Linked DNA regions of Homo sapiens: region 1 is linked to region 2. Evidence: promoter capture Hi-C in human tissues and cell types (Jung and others, 2019). All regions are on one chromosome and are shown on one strand. The core of a region is centred on a gene start or on the middle of the fragment in contact, and the rest is flanking DNA. Distances in the headings are between cores, read along the strand shown.

Region 1 (6,468 bases), core at 3,585-6,084, 78 kb after region 2:
CCCAGACACGGGGCTGAGGAGGCCCCACCAAACCACATATATGAGAGGCCTCCTCAGCCACCCGTCCCATCTCAACTCCTCACCTGGACTCCAGACTCCTCAACTTCTTTGGAAATTTTGCCTTAAACCTCACCCCCTCTAGGAAGCCTTCACCAGTGCCTCCTGTGGGCCTCTCCCTTGCTCAAAGCAAGGTCTAAAGCCCGTTTTCTCTGCTACATTCTCAACAGTCTTGTTCACAGCTACACTCCTGCACACCTCACACTGGGCCCGGCACACAGCAGGAGCTTAATGGATACTCACCAAATGAATGAGTAAACCAATGGCCAGGACTCTGCTCCTGCCAGGCTACCCTGCTTGTCTCCTTTCTCTGTGATCTGTGCCAATCACACCCCTCATTGGGAAGCAGAGGGGCGGCCACAGGGGATGGCTTAGCACCCCCAGCCCCTGAGGAGTCCGTGCCTGCCAGCTCCATCCGAGGATGGGTGTGGGGAACCAGCTGCCCGTCTCATTAACAGATGAGTGTCCTGAGCTCTGATGGGTGGAAGGGGGGAGTGTCGCAGGAAGGAGGGGGCTGTAGAGGCCTCAAGTGGCTCCTTGGCCATCTCTGAGCAGCGCAGACTCTGATATTAAGCAGAGCTGTGTGGAAATTACTCATTTCTGCATCTCCGCCGCCCCTCATTTCTCTGTGCTCATCAGCACATTGCCTCGCCAACCTCCCCTGCCACTTCTCAGAGGAAGACAGGAGGAGCTGGGGGGAGACTGAGTTCCATCCTCTTTGGAGCTTGTTCAGATTTTCAATGAGCTGCAGACCCCCTCATATCCCGTCATATCCTGCCACCCGCTGTCACCATCACAGCCACCCTGACCACCTTCCTTCCCCAAAACGTCCCCTCCCTGCTGATCGATCTCCACCTCTCTTCCAGCCTCCCTTCCTCCCTGTCTCTGCCCCTCCCCCTCAGCTCAGCCGCAGGATTTCTGCTCCACTGTGAATTGCAGAATCCCTAAGCCCTGGGAAAGCCCAGCCCCACTAATGAGCTAAAGCTGACCTTGTCTCCAGGCCGCAGCAGCTGAATGTATTAACCCCTCACTCCAGCAGAGACCTCATTGACTTCCAAACCACTTTTGCATCATTGTGCAGTCAGTCCAATGGAGCCGTTTATTGGGCACCTACTATAGACAAGGCCCTTGGGGCAGGGTGGGGGGTGCTGGGGACAAGGTCCTTTCACTTGTGGAGCTGCAACCTTGCAGGAATAGCTATAGCATCAGCGGCTCTGTGACAGAGGAAAGGTCGCTGCTGTGAATCAAGGACACTGGACTGTGGTCCGAGTCTGGCCACCAACTGGCTGCATGACCTTGATCCAGTCCCTTCCTCCCTCTGGACCTTGGTACTTCTATCTGCAAATAAGGGGTCGAACTTGTTCAGTATTTTCCAAACTGCAGTTTGCAACCCATTACAGGATGGGGAGATAAATTTAGTGTCAGAACCAACATTCGAAGAAAGAAAAAAACTTTAAGCAACTGCATCAGAACACGGCACACAATAGAGGTAAGTATTACACAAAGAAACTTATTGGGCTGACACGGTGGCTCACACCTGCAACCCCAGAGCAGTTTGGAAGGTCGAGGTGGGCAGATCGCTTGAGCTCAGGAGTTCAAGACCAGCCTGGGTAATGTTGTGAAATCCCATCTCTGCAAAAATATAAAAATTAGCCAGTCATGATGGTGCATGCCTGTAGTCCGAGCTACTTGAGAGCTCAAGCAGGAGGATCGCTTGAGCTCAGGAGATTGAGGCTGCAGTGAGTTGAGATTGTGCCACTGCACTCCAGCCTGGGTGACAGAGTGAGGCCCTGTCTCAAAAACAAACAAACAAACAAACAAACAAACAAACAAAAAGAAACAAAAAAACTTCTTTTGGCTGCACATCTCTTGTACATGTTTCCACAGGTACCTGCATGTATGTGTACGTGTGTCTATTTGTGTCTATGGTTGAGTGTGGACTATATGTATATGCACATGTGTTTTATGCACTTGTGTGTCTCTGTGTGTGTGTGTGTGTGTGCTGGGTCACAACAGAGTGGATTTCTTACGATGAGTCACAGTCAAAATATCTTGGGAAACGCTGTTGTACATGGTCCCTAAGATTCTTCTGGTTCCAAAACTACATCGTTTCAAATGCTGTTAGAAGAGGGACACTGAGGGGCTCATTCTAGCCACGGGATAGGGAAAACTTCATCAAAGAGTTGGTGGCACTTGTACTTTCTTTTTTTTCTTTTTTCTTTTTTTTTTTTTTGAGACGGAGTCTCGCTCTGTCGCCCAGGCTGGAGGGCAGTGGCGCCATCTCGGCTCACTGCAAGCTCCACCTACCGGGTTCACGCCATTCTCCTGCCTCAGCCTCCGGAGTAGCTGGGACTACAGGCACCCGCCACCACACCTGGCTAATTTTTTGTATTTTTAGTAGAAATGGGGTTTCACCGTGTTAGCCAGGATGGTCTCAATCTCCTGACCTTGCGATCCGCCTGCCTCGGCCTCCCAGAGTGCTGAGATTACAGGTGTGAGCCACTGCACCCGGTCCATTTGTACTTTAAAAGATGAGCAGGATTTCTACCAACATAGAAATGTAGGGGACAGAGGGGAGAGAGACAGAGGGGAGAAGGGGCAACAGCATTCCAGGTGGAGGCACCATTGTGAGCAAAGGCCGGGAGGTGGGACTGTGCTCCGTCTGTTTGGGGAACAGCGAGGAGTCCTAGGACCCCAGGACAGGGGATGACGTTCTGAGATTGGAAAGCTGGGCTGGGGCCACGTCTTGTGGCGGCCCATGGCTTCCACTTGGGGGATTTCCACAGGGATGGTGGGAAGCCAGGTAAGGCTTTTGATATCCCAACAGCCCCAGGAGGAACCCCAGACTCCATGCTTCCCCCTGTCTCCCAGGAAAGGACTTCTAGACTAAGGTATGACTGATTGACAAGACTTCATGAACCACCTGTTTCATAGGGGTGGTGGGTGATTTATTATTGGCAAGTGGTTCTAAGGCAGAGGGTCTGACATAGGGCTGGGCTGCTTCTCTGTACGTGCTGACCACTGCTCTGCGAGGGGGGTTGCACACCCACGTGTCAGCATTTCAGAGACTTTGACGCATGTGAGCATACTTGGGACAGAGTACTTGCCATTGTGAGGCTCACCATGCCTGAGGATCTAGACAGAAACAGATCAACTTATTGAATCCTTCGTTTGCAGATGAGGCAGCCGAAATCCAGAGATGTGACTGGCCCAAGGAGTCACAGTGGGCGAGAACTTATTCCTCAGGCCATTAGATTCCCTAATGCTGCACCTTCGGGCCCCTTTGTGCTGCTGCTGGACGGGTGGGGATGCGAGAGGGTGCTGAAGAGGTGGTATTGGGAGGCCTCAGGAGGTGGCTGCCTACTCAAAAAGCCTTACTTGCTTTAAAACAGCTCAGGCCGGCTCCCGTCCCCCACAGAAGACCCCCACTCCCTACCCTGCGGGCAATTCCTTGACAGTCACATTAGTGAAGGCTGGGTTAACCCTTGATGCTCTGCCCTCCAGCACCAGGGCAGGACCTGGACACCAGGGTCATTCCCTCCCTGGCACCTATGGAGACTGGATGCTGAGGAGGGAAAGGTGAAGCCACAGCCAACTATTTTTAGTTCAAGAATTGGTTGCCAGGAACACTGAGCCGACTCCCTGCTGTATATTAGGGATGCGACAGCAGCGGTGTTGTTTGCAGGGTCTAATTGTGGGGATTTATTGTAACATGCAACTTGTCAGCCACTGCTCTGCCTAGGGCCCAGTCTCCTTGTCATCGGAATCTGAGCTATTTCCCAACTCCCTGGGTGCAGGGGAAGGAAATGGGGCAGAGAAGGAGCAGGAGTGTGCCCAGGGACCCTGGACAGCTCACAGCTGACCTTGCACCAAGAGTCGCTCTGCCCAGGAGGGGGCAGAGAGGAGAAAAGTGATGAGACTGGATTGGAAGCAAAGAGAGAGGGCCTGGGGCTGCCCATTGTTGGGCCCACAGGACTCAACCTTGACTTTCCTTGGGGCTTCAGATCTGGAAGAGGCTCAGTGGGAACAAGCTGAGAGCTTTTTCTCTTGTGCATGACAGTAGCATAGGAGGGCACCGGCCTGGGTAACAGCGGAGAGTTTTCAGTTAGATGGAAGGAGGACCTCCTTGACTTGAGGGTGGTCCTCCTTCCACCCTCAAGTCAAGGGTGGCAAGGAGGGGACAGTGTCTGGTCTCAGCAGTGGCAGTGGTCATCCTTCTGCCAAGGGAGGGGGAGAGATATGCAGACACCTAGCAAAGCCTACTATGTGCTGGGCACACTGTGCAGCACCCCGATGCAACCTTATTTAATCCTTTGCAAAGGGGGCCTCTGTCTCCATTGCGTAGATGAGGAAACTGAGGCTCGGGTAGATATTCACCTAAGGTCTCATAGCAGTAAGGAGGCTACAGCTGGGATTTTTACCCGAAAGTGTCCAACTTCAGAGCTCTGCTCACCAACCATTATTGACTAGGACCCCAGGAACTGGAAGGAGGGGTCATCTTTCCCCTTGTTCCTGCATGCCTGGAATTCTGGGACAAAAAGACATTCAGCCAGCCAGCCAACAAACGCGCCAGGTACTGCGCCAGGCCCCTGGAATATAGGTACCCACCCAGGAAGAGCTGATGTGAAAAGGTCATTTCTTCCAGCCTCCTGCCTCATCTCCTCCTCTCCAAAAACCGTGGTCTGCATTTCAAATCACTCGAGAAAGGAAGGGCTGCAACTGTCCTTCTTCCCTTAAATAGTCAGGACTATTTAAGAAGCTTCTGATGTCTCAGGTAGGGGATAGGGGAAGGACGGCTTGGACTCTCAGCATCTTGGGGGAAGGCTGGACTCAGGCCTACTTTAATTATTTAGAAACCCTGGAGTAATGATGCAGAACCACCTTATGGGAGTGGTAAATGAGAAAGAGAAGGTTGAAAGCTGCCAGCCATGGGTTCAACTTTCCCGAGACAAGCTAAAATTGGACTGATCATTATAGCAGGCACCCAGGTATATGATTATTCTTCATAATTTTTTTTAGTTGCATAGACTACATTTTAAATAGATAATGCAAACTTGCACATGATGCAAAAATCAAAAGGTGCATAGGAAATATCCTGAAAATCTCCCTCCCTTCCCCACTCCCAGCCACCTAATTCCTCTCTCCACAGGCTCCAAGGTTATCAGTTTCTTGGTAGATTTGCAGAGATCGTCGATCCAATAAGTAAGCAATTACGGCTATATATTCTTTTTGTTTTATACAAACGTGCTCTTCTATACCTTGCTTTTTTTCCCACTTAGCAATTTATCTTGGAGATTGTTCCAAATCAGTCCATAAAGAGTAGCCCCCTCCATTCCTTTTTAATGATTGCATAATATTCTGCCAGTTGAATGAACCCTGATCTGCCGAACTCATCCCCAGCGATGGGCATTTAGGTGTTTTCAATCTTTGGCTCTTAAAAGTAGTGCTGCCATAAATAACCTCATTCATAGATCATATGGCATATGAAAGGTTATATTTATGGCATAAATTCCCAGAAGTGGAGCTGCTGGCCCGTGAACACGTACATTTATAATTTTGATACTTATTGCTGAATCTTTCTCCAAATAGATTGCACCAATTTATACTGTCTTGAGTTTCCCCAGAAGCAGGACCTGTGAAAAAGATTCAAGGGCAGGTTGTTTATTTGGGAGGTAATCCCAGGAGGTCCCAGTAGGGAGGTGGGGAAGGCGGGCAGGGGAGGGAGGAAAGCCTGATGACTGGACCTTAATCCCATTGAGGAGCTCAGGGAGGCATGTGGGACCCCCAGCTCAGAGTCATCCCAGTGGAGGGCACGAGGGTAGGGCACTGGTGACATCTGCCATCCCCTCCTCTAGAAACATAGGGATCCCTGTTGCCCCACACCTTCACATTGGGAAAATCTGATCATCCTTCCCCCCACACCCCTCCCTGGGCCCCATCTCACCCCAGTGCATGGACAGCCTGTGAAGGGGGCTGCCCACCCCACAGCCCCGCCCCAGGCTGGCACCGATCACTCTGCCCCTGCAGGGTCCCTCCTAGCTGCTAAGCCCTGGGGAAGGTAGAGAGGCACATCTAGGGTCACAAGACCCTAAACGCCCTAAAAGGAAACTACCTGTGGCACAACCTTTGTGCCCGTCACCACCCACCCTCCAGGCATCACACAAAACATGCCCCCTCCAGAATTGTTTAACCGATCGAACATAAGATTCCGCCCTTGTCCCCCAGAAGCCACACCCTGCATGTGAACTCCATGTAGAGACAAGGCCACACTCACTGGGGGCACAGACATAGATGCTAGGAACCAACCCAGGCTGGGGCGAAGGCTCTGCAGGTGGGCAGAAGCAGGTCTAGGGGTGGTGTTGGCCCTCGGGGCCCCAGGACCCTCTTCCAGCTCCCTACATCTGCTTTCCC
Region 2 (6,149 bases), core at 1,668-4,167:
CTTCCACCCTGGGCCCAACCTCTCCAACCCCTCCCGACCTCTTTGAGACAATTCTAAGTTTGTTTCTTGTCTGCCCACCCCTCCCCCTCCCCCAGCTAGACAGAGGCCTTCCCTGTGCCCACCACATGGCGATGCACATAGTAGGGGCATACTCAATGCCTGAAGATGGAATGGGTGGTGCATACAGGAACTTGCTGGGCTTGGTGCTGCTGCCTGGGATTCTTGAACAGAGACGTTTTGCAGAATGGATGTGAGCTGAGGAGTAAAGGATGCTTCGGAATCTTCTAGTGAGTCAGGGAGCCAGGCTGGAGTGTTTCTGTCTGGAGAGGGAAGGGCATCCCAGCTGGAGGGAACAGCATATGCAGAGAGAGCGGGTGGGGAGGACAAGGAGTTCTGTTTGACCTGAGCATGGAGAGAAGATGGGCAATGAGCCTAGGGTGGGTGGCAGGGATGGGATGGGGGCTGTGTGCCAGGCTAAGAAGCTGCCACTCTGGATTGGGAAGGGGTTGGGCAAGCAGGCAGAGGGGAGTAGCTGCCCAGTGAGCCCTGGATGCAAATCCCGACCTTGCCGCTTGAACTTGTGCAAGTCATAGGCCCTCTTGGAGCCTCAGTTTCCCCCCTTCATTATTTGGGGGTGGTGCCCACTCCTAAGGACCCTTCGAGCCCTGCACACTCTTATTATGTGGTTGCTGCTCTCTTGCACTCCCGACAAACAGAGAGACTCCTTGGGTAGATATGAAATCTCTTTGATACCCTGATTTCTTGTTGCCATGCATGGCTTTGCTCTGCAATGTTCCACCAGCCCTTTGAGAGGCGTGTGTCCCAGTGCCTCCAGTTCACAAGGGAGCCTGGGTCGACATGCTCTTTCTTACTTTCAAACCCTTCCTCTTGTGGAGTCCCGCCCAGGGCAGGCCAGTCTCGTGGGCCTGGGCCTGGGCATGGACATGGCCCAGCTCTGAGGGCGGGGGCATCAGGGGCATGAGTGGGATCAGCATGGCCATTGGCATCAGTGGCATCAGCTCCTCCGAGGCCCCAGGGGGGATGAAGGGCAGCTCATTAGGATCCAAGTGGGCGTCACTCCAGCCCTCGGAGCTATCACTGCGGTCCTCTGGATTGGTGGCTTCATTCTCAGATATGGTGACAATCTCAGTGGTGTCTTCTCCAGGGTTGCTGTCTAAGTCCCCTGCTCCTCGGCTGGTGCCTCTCTCAAGTGTGCTGGCTGTGTGGGCATCTGCTGCGCCCTCCTGCTTCTGCCTAGAGCCAGCTGAAGGGGCACAGCCGAGCCCACACATCTTAGCTCTGCCCTGGCCAGTCCAGAAGAGGCTGAGCTCTTGGCGGCAGGCAGCCACAGCCAGGCTGGTGAGCAGGGTGCTGGACACTAGGTAGAGCAAGGCAGGTTGGCCCATCTGCATGAGGACCATGGCCATGAATGTGACCAGCAGGCCCACAGCATAGGCCACGGTGCAGGCCACGAAGTAGATCTGACGGGAGCAGACTTGCACATCAAAGCGGCAACAGTAAGCAACCAGGAAGCCGGGGACCACAATGTCACCGAAGCCAAGGATGGAGAAGGGCTGGCTGCACAGGGTCAAGGCGGAGACTCTTAGCCGGGGCACTTTGAGTACCATGGGCAGCCTCTCATGGCTTGAAGACTCTGCAGGGCCCAAGGCAACCTGCGCCATGATGCTCTCACCGGTTTTGGTGAAGAAGGGGGTGACGAAGACAAAGAAGACATCAAAGGCCAGCAGGGCCAGCAGGAAGGAGGAGCAGTTCTTGAGAGTGGGCAGCCGCACACGGTGCAGGACGAACAGGCAGTAGGAAATGCCCAGTGTGTCCTGCAGGAGCCACGCCCAGCGGTCCTCATTGCGGTAGGCCACCCAGAAGATGATCACGGTTGCGCACAGGCTCGCCAGCAGCAGCAGAGGCAGCGGCAGAGAGGCCCAGAGGCTGTGCGGAGGCCTCTGGTATTGCCGCAGGGACAGGCGGCACACCAGGGGTGACAGGCAGCTGTAGAGGCCAATGCCAGCACCCAGGCCAAAGATCCCAATGGTGACATAGACAAAGTGGTCATAGAAGAAGTAGAGCAGCAGCATGAGCGAGCAGGACAGGGTGACCACCACGCCTGTCATGGCCGGCGTGAAGTCCACTGGGATGTCCTCATTATCTTCCTTCTGGGCTCCCTCAGCTGCTGCAGCTTCCTGCAGCTGATGGTGACCACCAGACCCCCCTCCTCTTCGGGCACGGCGCCGCTGTAGCCGGTTGGCTTCGGTCAGGCCGGCCCAGTAGCCGCCTGCAGCCACTGTGCCCACAGCCAGGATGAAGATGACCAGCATGTTGTAGTCGATGATGGGCTCTGGGGGTGCGTACATGGCCACGCGGACGACGGCCTCCCCACGAGTGTGGCTGAGGATGTCCAGCATGTCAGCATAGTGGAGCATAGCCACAGGGATGGTGAGGTCTGCCAGGGGCTGGCGGGGATCCTGGGGTGCCAGGGTGGTGTCTGAGCACTGTTGGTCACTGACCCGGCTCACGATGAGCAGCCCGTGGGCACCTTGGCCCTGAGCCAGCCAGCCTTTCGTGTGGAAGCTGCAGTTACCCCTCATGACCATGGCAGTGGTCTGGCGGAGGGGCCGCTGGCTGGGGGAGCGGAGCTGGGCCTGGTGGGGGGAATCCTCACCCGGGCACCAGGGTGCCTTGGTGCCATCATACAGGGGCAGGAGTGGGGCGTGGTGCAGGTCCCGGGGGAGGGTGATGTAGTCGGAGCTGAACAGGATACAGTAGTCCTTGCTCCAATTCTCCGACACCACGTGGGCCACGCCGTACTTTCCCCCGGCCACGGTGCTGATGAGGAGGAGGAAGCCCACGGGGAGGAGGAAGCCCAGGCACGCCATCTTCTTCAGTTCCTACTGCAACATCTGCGGGCGGCAGCCCAATACCCCTCCCAGGGGCAGGCGTGGCCCTTTGTCACAGAGCAGTCTGGCCACCTGTCCTGGAAACCAGGGCCACACCTACCTAGTCATAAAGCTGTGTGGTCCCCAGCCGAGGGCGCTGCTGTGGGGCACAGGGTCCCTCTAGAATGATGCCCCCCAACCCTGGGAGACCAGGGGAGAGGTCATATGGACCCTGCTCTCTGCCCAGACCCTAGTGGGTTTAGACCAGGTACTTTGAAATAAAAGGTGTGAGCATGGGGTTTGCAGGCCAGATAGGATTCTGAACCAACTTTTCTCCTTACCCATGGGGAACACAGGCCAATGTCACTCCTCTCTAGGCCTGTTTCTTTAGCTGTAAAGAAATGAGGACGTTGGGCCAGAGAGTTTCTAAGGTCCCTTGGAGCTCTGAGCTCAGTAACATTGAGCACTTTTACCGAGGGCTTACTAGGCGCCAGGTACCCTAGCTGTACCTATTGCACAGTTGCAAGGAGGTGTCATTATATCTGCACAGCCTGAGGCTGTCCCTCAAAGTTGGTCCCCATTTCTACCAGGCACATGACCAGAATTCACCTCCAACTCCATTTACAGTTGGGAACGGACAGGTGACCAGGAGAAATTAAGCAAAAATGATGTGAACTCTTTACATCAGGGGCTTAGGCTGACAGACCGTGGGGCTCCTGGTTTACCCTCTCTTTCCCTTTCTCAGGAGTCAGAACAAGGACGGGCCTGTGATGTGTCTGTCTATGACGAGGAGGACAATGTCCTAAGGAATGGAGAGGAAGAAAGTGAAGGGAACCAGGTCCCTGGATTCCATGTGGAACAGTAGCCCAGGATGTGCACTATGGACTGTTACAAGAGAGAGACATGATCTTCCTTAAGGCATTGATTTGTCATGAGTCTCTTTGTTATAGCCACTTAACGTTACCTTAATACACCCACTTCATGGATAAGTAAAACTGAGGCTTGGAGAAGCCCACATTGACACAGCAAAGAAGGCTGGGGCTCTTGTGCTGGTTAAATGGACCTTGATGTCTTCCAAATGTTTTCATGCTGGATTCTGAGCCACTCTCCTGGCTGCAACTCTGAGGCCGGGCAGACTTTCCGCTGGAAAGAGAACTCAAATACTGGTGAGAGGTGGATTTGAAGCCAGGAGCCCCAGGTTTTGGCTCTGCAGGTTTGCACCCAGCTCTGTGGTGTATGCCCTCACAGGTCACCCAGGACCTCCTGTCCAGGCTTCTTCAGGCCACCCATGATGGAGTAGATTTGAGGAATGAGGTTTTCAAAGCAGTTAGTGTGCGGGAGAGTAACCCTGGGGCCTCCGGAACCAGAAGGGAGGGATTTGGGGGCTGGAGCTTGGCAGTCCAGGTTCCATTGTCCTCATGTTCTCCCCACTGGCCTGGCCTGTCACTCCAGTCTCTGCATAGGTTGTCACATGGCATTCTCCCTGTGTGTCTCTGTGTCTCTTCTCTTCTTTATAAAGACATAGTTATAATGGATTAGGGCCCACCCTAATGACACCATCTTAACTTGATTATGTCTGCAAACACCCTACTTCCAAATAAGGTCGCATTAACAGGTACTGGGGTTTAGGACTTCAACATGCCTATTTGGGGGCACAATTGTGGGCAGCCCCACAACACACATGTAATTTTAACCTCTAAGGAGTAAGCATGCTGATTTTTTTTTTTTTTTTTTTTTGAGACAGGGTCTTGCTCTGTTGCTCGGCTGGAGTGCAGTGGCACGATCTCAGCTCACTGCAAACTCCACCTCCTGGTTTCAAGCAATTCTCCCCCGACCCAGCCTCCCGAGTAGCTGGGATTACAGGTGTGTGCCACCATGCCCAGCTAATTTTTGTGATTTTAGTACAGATGGTGTCTCACCATTTTGCCCAGGCTGGTCTCGAACTCCTGGCCTTAAGTGAATCGCCCACCTCAGCCTCCCGAGGTGCTGAGATTACAGGCACAAGCCACTGTGCCTGGCCAATCACTGATCTTTCTCAAGGACTCTCCTTCTTTTCTCTTTGAGATGGAGTCTCACTCTGTCCCCTAGGCAGGCTGGAGTGCAGTGGCACAATCTTGGCTCACTGCAACCTCCACCTCCCAAGTTCAAGCGATTCTCCTGCCTCAGCCTCCCAAGTAGCTGAGATTATAGGCGCCCACCACCATACCTGGCTAATTTTTGTATTTTTAGTAGACATGGGGTTTCACCATGTTAGCCAGGCTGGTCTCAAACTCCTGGCCTCAGGTGATCCAGCCACCTTGGTCCCCCAAAGTGCTGGGATTACAGGCGTGAGCCACCGTGCCTGTCAAGGCCTCTCCTTCTATTACGGGTCCATCTCTTGCAGTCCCAAACTGCTTTCCTTGGGAAATCCACAGGGATGAAACATCATCTCCAACATCAGCTGTGGATTCTTTGAAGTGGAGGGTGAGTTTAAAGGGCCATGTGAAGTGGTCAGCAAGTGGAACCCATCTGAGATTCTGACAATTCTCTCTCACCCAGTTATTTACACTCATCTCACCCACACCTAATTTGCCAATATTTTTGGTGACTCATTTGTAAAGTATCCTTCAAAGCATTAGACTGAATTTTCATAAGAAACATCTCTCCTTGTTAGTGCACTTCTGATTCATCAGTAATATAACATTTAGTTAGATTACGACAGTAATTACAATGACAAGTGAACTGTCAGAAACATGTTCAGGAACAAATACAAGTGACTGGCAAACAAACCACCAGCCGGTGTGAGGAGAAGCAGGCAGAGCCCAGGGGAGGAGGCTGCCAGCTGTCCCTTCCGAGTGCTCCCATTTCAAAGGGGAGGTTGGCAGGAGGGTGGTTAGGAGAGGGAGGCTCGCCTGTAGGCCACAGGAGGGCTGTGACAGTAAAACCCTTTCTGGCCCCCCAGCAACGAATGGGCAACCTAGACCCTCACTCCAGGCCCTGTTCTCCACGCAGGGAGTCGTGGATCTTTTAAAAAACAAGAACCAGCACACCCACTTTGTCACAAAACCCAGACAATCACAAGCTTTGTCGAGGATATAGGGAAGTTGGGACCCTCATACACTGCTGGTGGGAATGGAAAATTGTGCAGCCGCTGCAGGAAACAGCTTGGTGGTTCCTAGATAAGTTAAGCAGAGTTATCATATGACCCAGCACTTATACTCCCAGCTATATATCCCAAAGAATTGAAATCAGGCCTTCAAACAAAAGCGTGTACATGCA

What was found. The method cuts DNA at HindIII sites, captures the fragments that hold promoters and counts their contacts. A contact is called where the count stands out against the background at its distance.
Region 1: a contact is called between a fragment that was not itself captured here and the fragment with the promoter of SPPL2C in region 2, in 3 of the 25 tissues and cell types used here (lymphoblastoid cells, psoas muscle and spleen).

The regions. Positions count from the first base shown.
Region 1 is chr17:45,765,627-45,772,094 of GRCh38, reverse strand. The region is part of intron 3 of LINC02210-CRHR1 (LINC02210-CRHR1 readthrough); the gene reads right to left. Among named protein-coding and RNA genes, the nearest start is that of CRHR1, 15 kb to the left of the region's middle. RefSeq lists an enhancer at 1-496. The HindIII fragment of the contact is 6,380 bases long and covers 1,645-6,468 here.
Region 2 is chr17:45,841,649-45,847,797 of GRCh38, reverse strand. SPPL2C (signal peptide peptidase like 2C) reads right to left here and starts at 2,917. Exons shown (of 1, transcript NM_175882.3): 1 at 731-2,917. The coding sequence starts at 2,891. The coding sequence ends at 837. MAPT-AS1 (MAPT antisense RNA 1) reads left to right here. Exons shown (of 2, transcript NR_024559.1): 2 at 3,637-4,442. RefSeq lists enhancers at 1,027-2,010, 2,011-2,995. The HindIII fragment of the contact is 11,226 bases long and covers 1-6,149 here.